Linked DNA regions of Homo sapiens: regions 2 and 3 are each linked to region 1. Evidence: promoter capture Hi-C in 16 types of primary human blood cells and fetal thymus (Javierre and others, 2016). All regions are on one chromosome and are shown on one strand. Each heading gives the region's core, a stretch centred on a gene start or on the middle of the fragment in contact. The rest is flanking DNA. Distances are from core to core; before and after follow the strand shown.

Region 1 (3,442 bases), core at 303-2,802:
AAATAATTAGTAGATTCATCACCTTATTTTTTTTGTCTTAGGAATATTCAAAATCCACTCTTCTAGCTATCTGAAAATATACAACAAATTGTGTATTTTTGTTGTTAATTATACTCCTAATAATAGTTATCCTATAGAACACTAGAATTTATTCCTATCTAGTTGTACTTGTGTATCCCTTAACAAACGTTTGTCTATCCTCCTCCATGAATCTTTTTTCCCACTATTATTGGAATAAAGGAGAAAAACAAAACAACAACAACACTGGACTAGGTGGAAGGCATATAGAATGCTAGCCCCAACACTGAGAAGTCAAGCATGTTCTCCATAATTAACTGTCCCAGAAGAGCAGTTTAGAAATGTGTTTAAGTATAGTCCCAAAGGGAAAGCTTACTTTGCAACTAAAAATAAAGGCCTAACTACTCCAGGAGGTCAACAATCCAGCCATATCTCTCAGGGTTTGCAGCTGTTTTCTGGAATGCCTGAAATAGGAACAAACTTAACACCACTGCGTTGATACGAGCCACACACCAAAATGAGACTGCTAGGATCTCTACTTGAAAACTTGAGTAAACGAGCTAGTCATTGAGGGCAGGGCCGTAAGGGAGATTTCATCTCGTGCTCTTTGGTCACTTTCGCACACCGCCAAGCAAATAAGAGCAAAGACACCTTTCTTAAAACACTTACCAACCTGCTCTCCTCAACTGTGCCCTGCAAGCTGTGGCATCTCCTGCCACCCTGCCTCTAGTTTCCCAGACTGCAATTTCCCCAGCCCCGTTTTCCTACACACGTTTCCACACCCTCTCACGATCTTTTACTCTCTTCTCCCTTCCGGTCGTTCCAGCGGGTCCCACCTCCCTCTTCTTCCCACCCTCAAAGAACTGACCACCTCTGATACCCCTCAGCGCGGGACACTCATCACCCCAGCATCCTACGCGCCTTCCCCTCCATAACTAGTCCCAGGACCCAGTCTTTCCCACGCTCTGTTCTCAAGACCCACCTTACCCTCCCTCCCTAGACCTTCGCATCCTTCCATCCAGGAAGCCCCCACACCACGCCCCACGCCCCCTCCTCTGCAAGGCCCTAAGCTCTGCTCTCCACCCCCATTTAGAGTTTTGCCTCCTGCACTTCGTTCAGCCCCATCAACGCCATGGACTGCACCTGCCGCTGATTTTCAAGTTACGTTCTACGGCCTTCTCACCTGGCCGGCTTTCCTAAACGATCCGCGGGGCTCCCTCAGCCATCCGTTCAGCGGCGCACCCAACCCTGGCAGGAGCCGGGTCCGCCTCCCGGACCGCTCCCCCGTTGGCTGGCTCCAGGCCAATAGGACGCTTCTGGAGAGCGATAGGGTCTCGGAACTGTCTGTCAAATCCGGAGGCGTAAACCGGGCCGCGATTCAAGTTTTTAATTGGTCATTACAGCTATCACTTAGCAGTCTAGAGGCAGGTCTGTATGCTCCCGCCGAGCTGTCATAGGCCGGCGCGTAGGAGTCAAGAGCGCGGAAAGAACGTGCCCCAAGCAGTTTGGTTGAGGGCCGAGGAGTGACGTGTCGGTTTGCGGACCCACGGGGAGTCGCAGTGGGAAGGCGCGGCCCACTGACTCCCGTCATGTGACAAGAAGCGGAAACTACGCTGAAATAGGCCCTTGCTCCAAGTCCCAGTAACTCGGAATGCGGAGCCGCTCGTCTCCCGTCTTTTTTAAGGTAGAAATTGTTACCTAATACAAGGTGAAAGGAGAGGAGGGAAGCATTTTCTACCTATTTATTCTCAATTAAAACTCAAACGCGGACTGGTCCAGACAGTTCGTCTTTTGCAGGATGTGCCTGATAGTTGACTCGAGCTTTTACTGTGCCTTGGTAACTGCGATGGACCTGGGAACCTTGACAGAGTTCACAGCCCCTGGTTTTGTGAAAGAGCGTGCCTAGGCCTAAAGGGGTTGTCGGGGCTAAGCTGGAAGCATTTCTACTGCCAGCTGAGACAGCCACCGCCGCGGAGGCACAGCCCTCCCCAGCAGCAAGCGGGCTTCCTCGGGAGACCGGGAGGCAGCCCGGCCATGCTTAGTCAGTTCAGCCCTTTGTTAAAATACCGGCCAGAGAGCCGCTCTCCCTATCCTAACTTGCCTCTCTTCTCTCGCACCCCACGCGCTCCCCGACCCCCAATAAGTTTGCTGAGGGCAGAGAAGGGGACGAAGTTTGAGCAGCAATTCCATCATCTCAGACTCGCACGTGTACACCTTTATCCTCAGGCACTTCCACTCCCTGCGCGCCTCGGTGAGCCAAGGCTACACCAGAGAGAGTGGGAACGTCTCGCAGCTCTTCGAACTTGTTGCCTCTACCACTCACGCAGTTTCCTATTCTCCCATGAACGGAACCCACCACTTATTGAAAGGTCATTATTTAAATCACTGCTTCAGAATCACATGCATTTTTTTCAAAATCCACATGACCAGGCTCGCCCCAGGACGTTATGATTCAATAGATCTGCTTTTTTTTGGTTTTGTTTTTAGTAGTAAGTGTTCGATGTAATTTTACTTTAACAAAAGGAAACTGAAGCTGAGCCTGAAGGAATTACAGAACTTGGAGTAAATGCTTCTTCAAAATACGAGTTTTGGTCGGGCGCGGTGGCTCACCCCTGTAATCCCAGCACTTTGGGAGGCCAAGGCGGGCGGATCACGAGGTCAGGAGGTAGAGACCATCCTGGCCAACATGGTGAAACCCGTCTCTACTAAAAATAGAAAAATTAGCTGGGCGTGGTGGCGCGTGCCTGTAATCCCAGCTACTCGGGAGGCTGACACAGAATCACTTGAACCAGGGAGTCGGAGGTTGCAGTGAGCCGAGATCGTGCCACTGCACTCCAGCCTGGCGACAGAGCTGGACTCCGTCTCAAAAAGAAGTTTTTTCTCTTTAAAAATAAAAAAGCGGGGAGGGGGGCATTAAAATTAGAAAGATTGTGTTCAAGTTTCTTTTGTTTTTTTTTAAGTATTAACCTAAGAATATTAAGGCCGGTCGCGGTGGCTCACGCCTGTAATCCCAGCACTTTGGGAGGCCGAGGCGGGTGAATCACCTGAGGTCAGGAGTTTGAGAACAGCCTCACCAACATGGTGAAACCCCATCTCTACTAAAAATACAAAAATTAGCTGGGCTTGGTGTCAGGATCCTGTAATCCCAGCTACTTGGGAGGCTGAGGCAGGAGAATCGCTTAAACCCAGGAGTTGGAGGTTGCAGTGAGCCAAGATCGCGCCATTGCACTTCAGTCTGGGCAGCAAGAGCGAAACTCCGTCTCAAAAAAAGAAAAAGAATATTAAGATGTTAGAGTTTTTATTAATTTTTTTCAAAGTAGGCCAGGCGCGATGGTGGGCTCCTGTAATCTCAGCTACTCAGGAGGCTGAGGCAGTAGAATTGCTTCAACCCAGGAGGCAGAGGTTGCAGTGAGCTGAGATCACG
Region 2 (3,442 bases), core at 614-3,113, 470 kb before region 1:
CGATCCTCCTACCTCAGCTTCCTGACTAGCTGGTACTACAGGTGCATGCCATTACAACCGGCTAATCTTTTATAATTTTTGTAGAGACAGAGTTTCACCATGTTGTACTGGCTGGTTTTGAACTCCTGGGCTCAAGCAATCCATCTGCCTTGGCCTCTCAAAGTGCCGGGATTACAGTTGTGAGCTACCACACCCAGCCAAGATGTTTTTAATACAGGTATTTCCTTGTATGTCTTTAATTTTGTGCTTTATACTTAAAAGGTGCTCAACAAAGTTTTTTCTTTTTTTCAGTTTATTTATTGAAACTTTACACATACACTGTTTGGCTGTAGAATTCTAAAATCATATTTTCCAAAATGTTTTTTTTTTTTTTTTTTGAGACGGAGTCTCGCTCTGTCGCCCAGGCCGCACCGCGGACTGCAGTGGCGCAATCTCGGCTCACTGCAAGCTCCGCTTCCCGGGTTCACGCCATTCTCCTGCCTCAGCCTCCCGAGTAGCTGGGACTACAGGCGCCCGCCACCGCGCCCGGCTAATTTTTTGTATTTTTAGTAGAGACGGGGTTTCACCTTGTTAGCCAGGATGGTCTCGATCTCCTGACCTCATGATCCACCCGCCTCGGCCTCCCAAAGTGCTGGGATTACAGGCGTGAGCCACCGCGCCCGGCCTCCAAAATGTTTTTAACCCAAATTGCAGAATGATTATAGCAAAGGAATACATAAGTCATTCAATTTGCTTCTCAATGTGTTAAACACAGAGAATTATTTGCTCATTTGGTAAACATTACCTCATCCGCTTCTTCACCTTCTTCATCATAAACATCATCATCAACTTCAATAGCTTCTCCAGTAAAGTATGACACTGCTCTTGGGATTATACGCTCACGTAAAAAGTGACCTATTTTGAAGTCTGTGCAAGGATTTCAGCATCATCATCCAGATCTCCACTCTCAGGAACTTCAGGAGGGGCAAACAAATTAAAGAGTCATTGGAAACTGTGTTAGTCACAGTATGAACTGTCCCACTTCCCTTGTGTTTCTGCTTCTTCTTAATGGTTTTCAAAGTGACATTCTTTCCTTTTTTCCAATCTATCTGGCACCCTGTGCAACCCATAATTTCTGGTCCATCAAAAGAAAAGGGATCAGAATCATCTGGTTCTGACCTCATCCTGTATGTCTTTGACAGCATTTCATTTGTAAAATATTCATTGGGTTCAAAGTGAAATTCTAAGACAAAATTCATAGGCTGGTCAGCATCTGAGAGCTTCACTTTAGTATCTTTCAAGTGTTTCAGAATAGGTTCATCATGTTGTTGAACCATATCACTGAACAAGTCAACATTCTTAGAAACAGTTAACCAAAATTCAGGAATTTCTTTGGGGTCTTCTTTTTCTTCATCCTTTTTCTCATCTTCGATCTTGGCCTTTTCTTTCAACTCCTCTGAAATCTCATCTTCTTTATCTGGTTACCATTCACATTGTTCTTCTGTGGGTTCATAAATTTCATTAATAATCTCAAATCGCTTATCAAATAGAGGCTGATAGAGAACAGCATATTCCTTTCAAGATCGTGAACTTCCTCATAGAATTTGGTTTCTATCTGTGCACATTTAATTTAACTTGCAGGTTTTTGAGAGCATTCACTCGTCTTTTAACTACCCTAGGCAGGCTTTCAGTGTATCCTGTTGGTGTTTCTACCAGAACATCAAGTCTTTCTTGAAGGACTGCAAGAATCTGAGGACTTTGCATTATCTGAACAGTTAGCTGATGTGCTTTGATTTTTGTTTCTTCACCAGTTTCTTCTTCATGTACTTCTTCAACATCATCCAAATCTCGATCAAGTTCAGATTGTCAGTGTCTGCCATGTTATAAGAACTCCAAATATCGGCAGCTAGTATGGGAAGCCAGGAGGCCTGAGCTGCGCAGGCAGTGACTCAGGGCGGCAGTGGCGGCAGGAGGAGCAGGAGGCGGCACTGCGAGCAAATGGTGCTAAAAAAGAACAGATCAGTTTAACTGATCAATTTATTTGAAGTGATATTAATAAAAATACTTCCCATTATTGTAGGGAGACATTAATGTGTAATAATTAAGAGTCCAGCCTCTAGACACAGATTACCTGAGTTTTAATATGAGCTCTGACACTGACTAGCCGTGTGACTATGGTCAAGGCACTTCATGTCTCAGTTTTCTCATTTGTAATTTGGGACTAATGCTTAAAATAATACTTGGTGCACAGAAGGAACTATATAAGCATTAACTATTATTATTATAAATAGCTTTTATTTATGTTAAAAACACTTTTATCCAGTGTTTGCTACTTGCCAATCACTGTATTAAGTGCTTTGTGTGTATCATCTCAATTAATCCTCCTAGCAAACCACTGAAGTAGGTCCTATTAACAACTCTATATGAGGTATTATTACTCTTTACAAATGATGAAGTCATTTACAACTTTACAAATGATGAAATCAAGACTCCAAGAGTTTAAGTTATTTGACCAAGATCAAATAAGGTACAGTCAGAATGTGATACAAGTTTATGGACTCTAGTTACTCTATTATGTTATTCTTGGAGAACCATTTTTGTTTTTGTTTTTGAGATGGCGTCTTGCTCTGTCGCCCAGGCTGGAGTGCAGTGATGGGATCTCGGCTCACTGCAAGCTCCGCCTCCTGGGTTCATGCCATTCTCCTGCCTCAGCCTCCCGAGTAGCTGGGACTGTAGGCACCCACCATCACGCCTGGCTGATTGTTTGTATTTTTAGTACAGACGGGGTTTCACCATGTCAGCCAGGATGGTCTTGATCTCCTGACCTCATGATCTGCCCGCCTCGGCCTCTCAAAGTGCTGGGATTACAGGTGTGAGCCACCGCGCCCGGCCTTGGAGAACCAATTTTAACATGTATTGAGTATTATAAAAGCACCCACTTCAGGCCTGGAATGTATTAAATGTCACTTAGTATCTAACAACCTTCCCACCTCATCCCTGAGGACTTGAGTACTTGGCTCATGGTATTTCATTTATCAGCCTCTCAGTTCCTTCAATATGTCCCCTGACGGCATAAATCATCCACATCGTCCACCAGCACCGGTAAACATACTAGATCTAATCATTACTTGGAACTGTTCTACTTCTGAAATGGTAAACTCTGGTTATTACCAAAGACTTCTTGGTTCTTTCTTACTCAATCCTGTAACAACAGCTCTTTAATGTCATACATATCTCCTTTTCTTTAATTTGTAATTTTTCCAGTCTATTATTCTTCTCAAACCTCTTACACCTTTTCCACTGCCTGGATTCTATGATTGCTGTTTTAAAAATTTTCTTACCAATACCGTGTGTTATTTTCCTTCTTGTACAACTTCCAGAAAAACTTCAAAATTGGGTTGGTGTTATGCTTTTCCCCTTCTACCTGACTGATTAAATTTTGATGGAGAAAACCACATAATCA
Region 3 (3,442 bases), core at 341-2,840, 290 kb before region 1:
TAGCTTAGGTAATCCGTACTCCTGATTGGCTGCTATGAATCTTCTGTTTTTGGAAAACTGGCCTGTTTCAGAGGTCAGTTTGATTATGTGGCACCTAATGTGAACGACTTCATTCTGGTTGGTTTGATCTCTTGGAACCTCGTGCAGGAAGCTAGTCCAAACAGTGGCCTCCCATACTTTGTTTACATGGCATAGTTCAGAATATAAGCTCATATTATGGTGTCATATTATCTAGGTACAAATTCTGCCTTCTCTACTCCCTAGTTTGTGATAAGGACAAGTTACTTAGCATCTCTTTGACTCAATTTTCTCACTTATAAAATGGGGATAATACACTTGAGCATGGGAGGTAGAGGCTGTAGTGAGCTATGATCACACCACTGCACTCTAGCCTGGACAACATCTCACCCAGGCTAGAAATCTCACCTTTGAAATCTCTTAAATGATAAGAGTGGCTTTTGAATGCTAGTGAGATGACTGGTTGCAGGATGGGGGCTGGTCACCAGAAAGACCGAGGCATGATGAGTGTTGGGACTTTCAGCCCCATCTCCCAGCCACCAGGGAGGGGAGAGAGGCTGCAGACTGAGTTGATCACCAATGACCAGTGTAATCAATCATGCCTATGTAATAAAGTTTCCATAAAAAGTTAAAAGGATAGCTTGTGGGGAGCTTCTGAATAGCTGAACATATAGAGGTTCCTTGAGGGTGGCATGCTCAGAGAGGGCATGGAAGCTTCATACCCCCCTCACATGCCTTGCCCTATGTACCTCTTCCAGCTGGCTGTTCATCTGTATCCTTTGTAATATCCTCCGTAATTAGTGAGTTGATGTAAGTAAAATGTTTGCCTGAGTTCTGTAAGCTGCTCTAGCAAGTTAACTGAATCTAAGGAGGGGGTTGTAGGGGCTCCCAATTTATTGCTGGTCAGTCAGAAGTATGGGTGACAGTCTACTACTTGTGACTGGCATCTGAAGCGGGGGGAATTCTTGCGGGCCTGAGCCCTCAACCTGTGGGATTTGACCCTATTTCCAAGTATATAGAATCATAATTGAACTAGAAGACACCCAGCTGATGTCCACTGCAGAGCTGATTGCTTGGTGTGTGGGGAAATAACTCCCACACATGTGGTGTGGGAAGTGTTGTGTTGAGTGGTATGTGAGAGTGGAGGGGAAAAAATGTTCACTAATTCAATTTCCTTTGTAGGGTTGTGATGAGAATTAAATTAAAAAGTGCATGTTAGCACAGTGTCTACCAAGTAATAATAACTAAATACATTATAGATATTGTATAGTATTGTTATTCTTTATTCTTACTCTTATTAGATGAATAGCTCCCTGCCTTCCCTTATATCTCTCTTGGCTCAATCCATCCTACGTCATTGCCAGATGAATCTTCCTAAAACTTTAATCAAGTTATTCTGCTTAAGCACTTGCAGTGACTTCTCTTTGCCAGAGTAAATTCAGTTTGCCTGGGTTCCTGCACAATCTGGAGCCATCGTGCCTTTTCAGTCTTATTTCCCCTCTACTCAAGTCCTCTACTCTAGCTAGTTTTGTTTCTTCGCTGTCCTGAAAGCCACTTGGTTTATTTAACTCTGTGCCCTATACTGCCTTCTTTATCTAGATTGACCTCTCCTCTCTTTCCAAATCCTGTGGAGCTCTTGAATTCTCAGCTCCAACTCACCTCTTCTACCAAGCCCTGCCTAACTACCCTTAAGCCATCGGAATCTGACCATCTTTGAAATTTTTGTAGCACTTGCTTTTATTTGTCATTTAACATCTACAACATTTAGATCGAGACTGTTACTATTCTGTTTAGTCTTATCTTTTCTTCTTGAGATGCTCATTCCTTTCCAATCTTACTTTCTGATATTTCATAATGTGAACCCTTCACCAGTATGTTTACTAAACACTCAAATGTCAGCTCTGATGATGATGGACAATCAAAAATGTCCCCAGACATCACCAAATGTCCACCGTGAGGTCAACATATCCAGGATTGAGAATCAGCATCTAGTATTCACAACATCTAGCATTGCTACATGATGATGATGATGATGAAGAGATGATGTACATTTCCACTGATAGTCATACACGGCCTTCTCTGTTTATGTCTTTCCAGCAATCACAAAGGCAGTGTGTTATACAGGAAACAGCAACAAAGGATCAGGAATCAGGAGACTAAAGTTCTGGTCTCAGTAATTTGCTCTCATAATTTGGATAAGTTAGTCAGTCTGTGTTTCAGCTACTTCACCTACAAAATCAATAGTTAAATGAGATATTGTTAATTGCTTCCATTCTAAAATTCTTTTCTTCTTAAATCTATTTTTTAAAGGCCAACTCATTTTTCTCAATTATTCTTACTTACATATTAAGCATTTTTACTCACAATTTGCCTTACTGTTATTACTTTTCCAAGTATATGTGTCTTATTCTCTCAAGAATATTAAGCTTTTTGGGGCACCATATGTCTTACATTTGTTGTTATTCATAACATCTAGTATTGCCACATGTACAATGAAAATCAAGTTTGGTTGAATTAATTTTGCTTTATTTTCATTTTTGGTAATTTTAGCCTTGGGATCCCTCAGAAGAAGAACATTTAGTTACTACCTTTCACTTAGTAATTTATTTCACTTAGTTCCTGTCCTGAAATTACTAATAATAAATGAGATTCCTCATTTGGGAGGGACAGATGTTGTAAATGTTGATGCAGAGTGAAAGATATTAATGTTGTAAATCAGGGTTTCTCAACCTCAGCACTATTGACGTTTTTGTCTTGATACTTCTTTTTTTATTTTTAATTTAATTTAATTTAATTTATTTTATTTTATTTTTGAGATGGAGTCTCACTCTGTCGCCCAGGCTGGAGTGCAGTGGTGCAATCTTGGCTCACTGAAAGCTCCGCCTCCCGGGTTCACGCCATTCTCCTGCCTCAGCCTCCCGAGTAGCTGGGACTACAGGCACCCGCCACCACGCCCGGCTAATTTTTTGTATTTCTAGTAGAGACGGGGTTTCACTGTGTTAGCCAGGATGGTCTTGATCTCCTGACCTCATGATCCACTTGCCTCGGCCTCCCAAAGTGCTGGGATTACAGGCGTGAGCCACCCGCCCAGCCTTGTCTTGATACTTCTTTGTTATGGGGGCTGTTCTGTGCATTTTAGGATGTTTGGCAGCATTCCTGGCCTCTACCCACTAGATGCAGCAGCACTCTTTCGATTGTGACCATCAAAAATGTCTCTAGACATCACCAAAAGTCTACTGTGGGAGTTACAACATCCAGGATTGAGAATCAACTATTTTAAATAAAAGGAAGACTAGACATGCCAGATTGTGAGTGAGGTTTTCTTGTATTTCTTTTCTTTTCTTTTTTTTTGAATTTTACTTTAAGCTCTGGGATACATATGCAGAATGTGCAGGTTTGTTACATAGGTATTCGTGTGCCATGG

What was found. The method cuts DNA at HindIII sites, captures the fragments that hold promoters and counts their contacts. A CHiCAGO score of 5 or more calls a contact.
Region 2: a fragment that was not itself captured here is called in contact with the fragment with the promoter of STT3A-AS1 in region 1 in 1 of 17 cell types (naive CD8 T cells); the score reaches 5.5 in naive CD8 T cells.
Region 3: a contact is called between a fragment that was not itself captured here and the fragment with the promoter of STT3A-AS1 in region 1, in 11 of 17 cell types (naive B cells, non-activated CD4 T cells, endothelial precursors and 8 more). The highest score is 10.8, in naive B cells.

Annotation. Positions count from the first base shown.
Region 1 is chr11:125,590,678-125,594,119 of GRCh38, reverse strand. STT3A-AS1 (STT3A antisense RNA 1) reads left to right here and starts at 1,552. Exons shown (of 4, transcript NR_132372.1): 1 at 1,552-1,702. It overlaps STT3A (STT3 oligosaccharyltransferase complex catalytic subunit A), which reads right to left and starts at 1,268. Exons shown (of 18, transcript NM_152713.5): 1 at 1,202-1,268. RefSeq lists enhancers at 1,402-1,996, 2,114-2,283. The HindIII fragment of the contact is 3,144 bases long and covers 392-3,442 here.
Region 2 is chr11:126,065,943-126,069,384 of GRCh38, reverse strand. It overlaps the pseudogene NAP1L1P1. Among named protein-coding and RNA genes, the nearest start is that of CDON, 4.8 kb to the right of the region's middle. The HindIII fragment of the contact is 5,217 bases long and covers 1-3,442 here.
Region 3 is chr11:125,876,860-125,880,301 of GRCh38, reverse strand. LINC03136 (long intergenic non-protein coding RNA 3136) reads left to right here. Exons shown (of 2, transcript XR_007062935.1): 1 at 1-3,442. Among named protein-coding and RNA genes, the nearest start is that of LINC03136, 4.3 kb to the left of the region's middle. The HindIII fragment of the contact is 1,712 bases long and covers 735-2,446 here.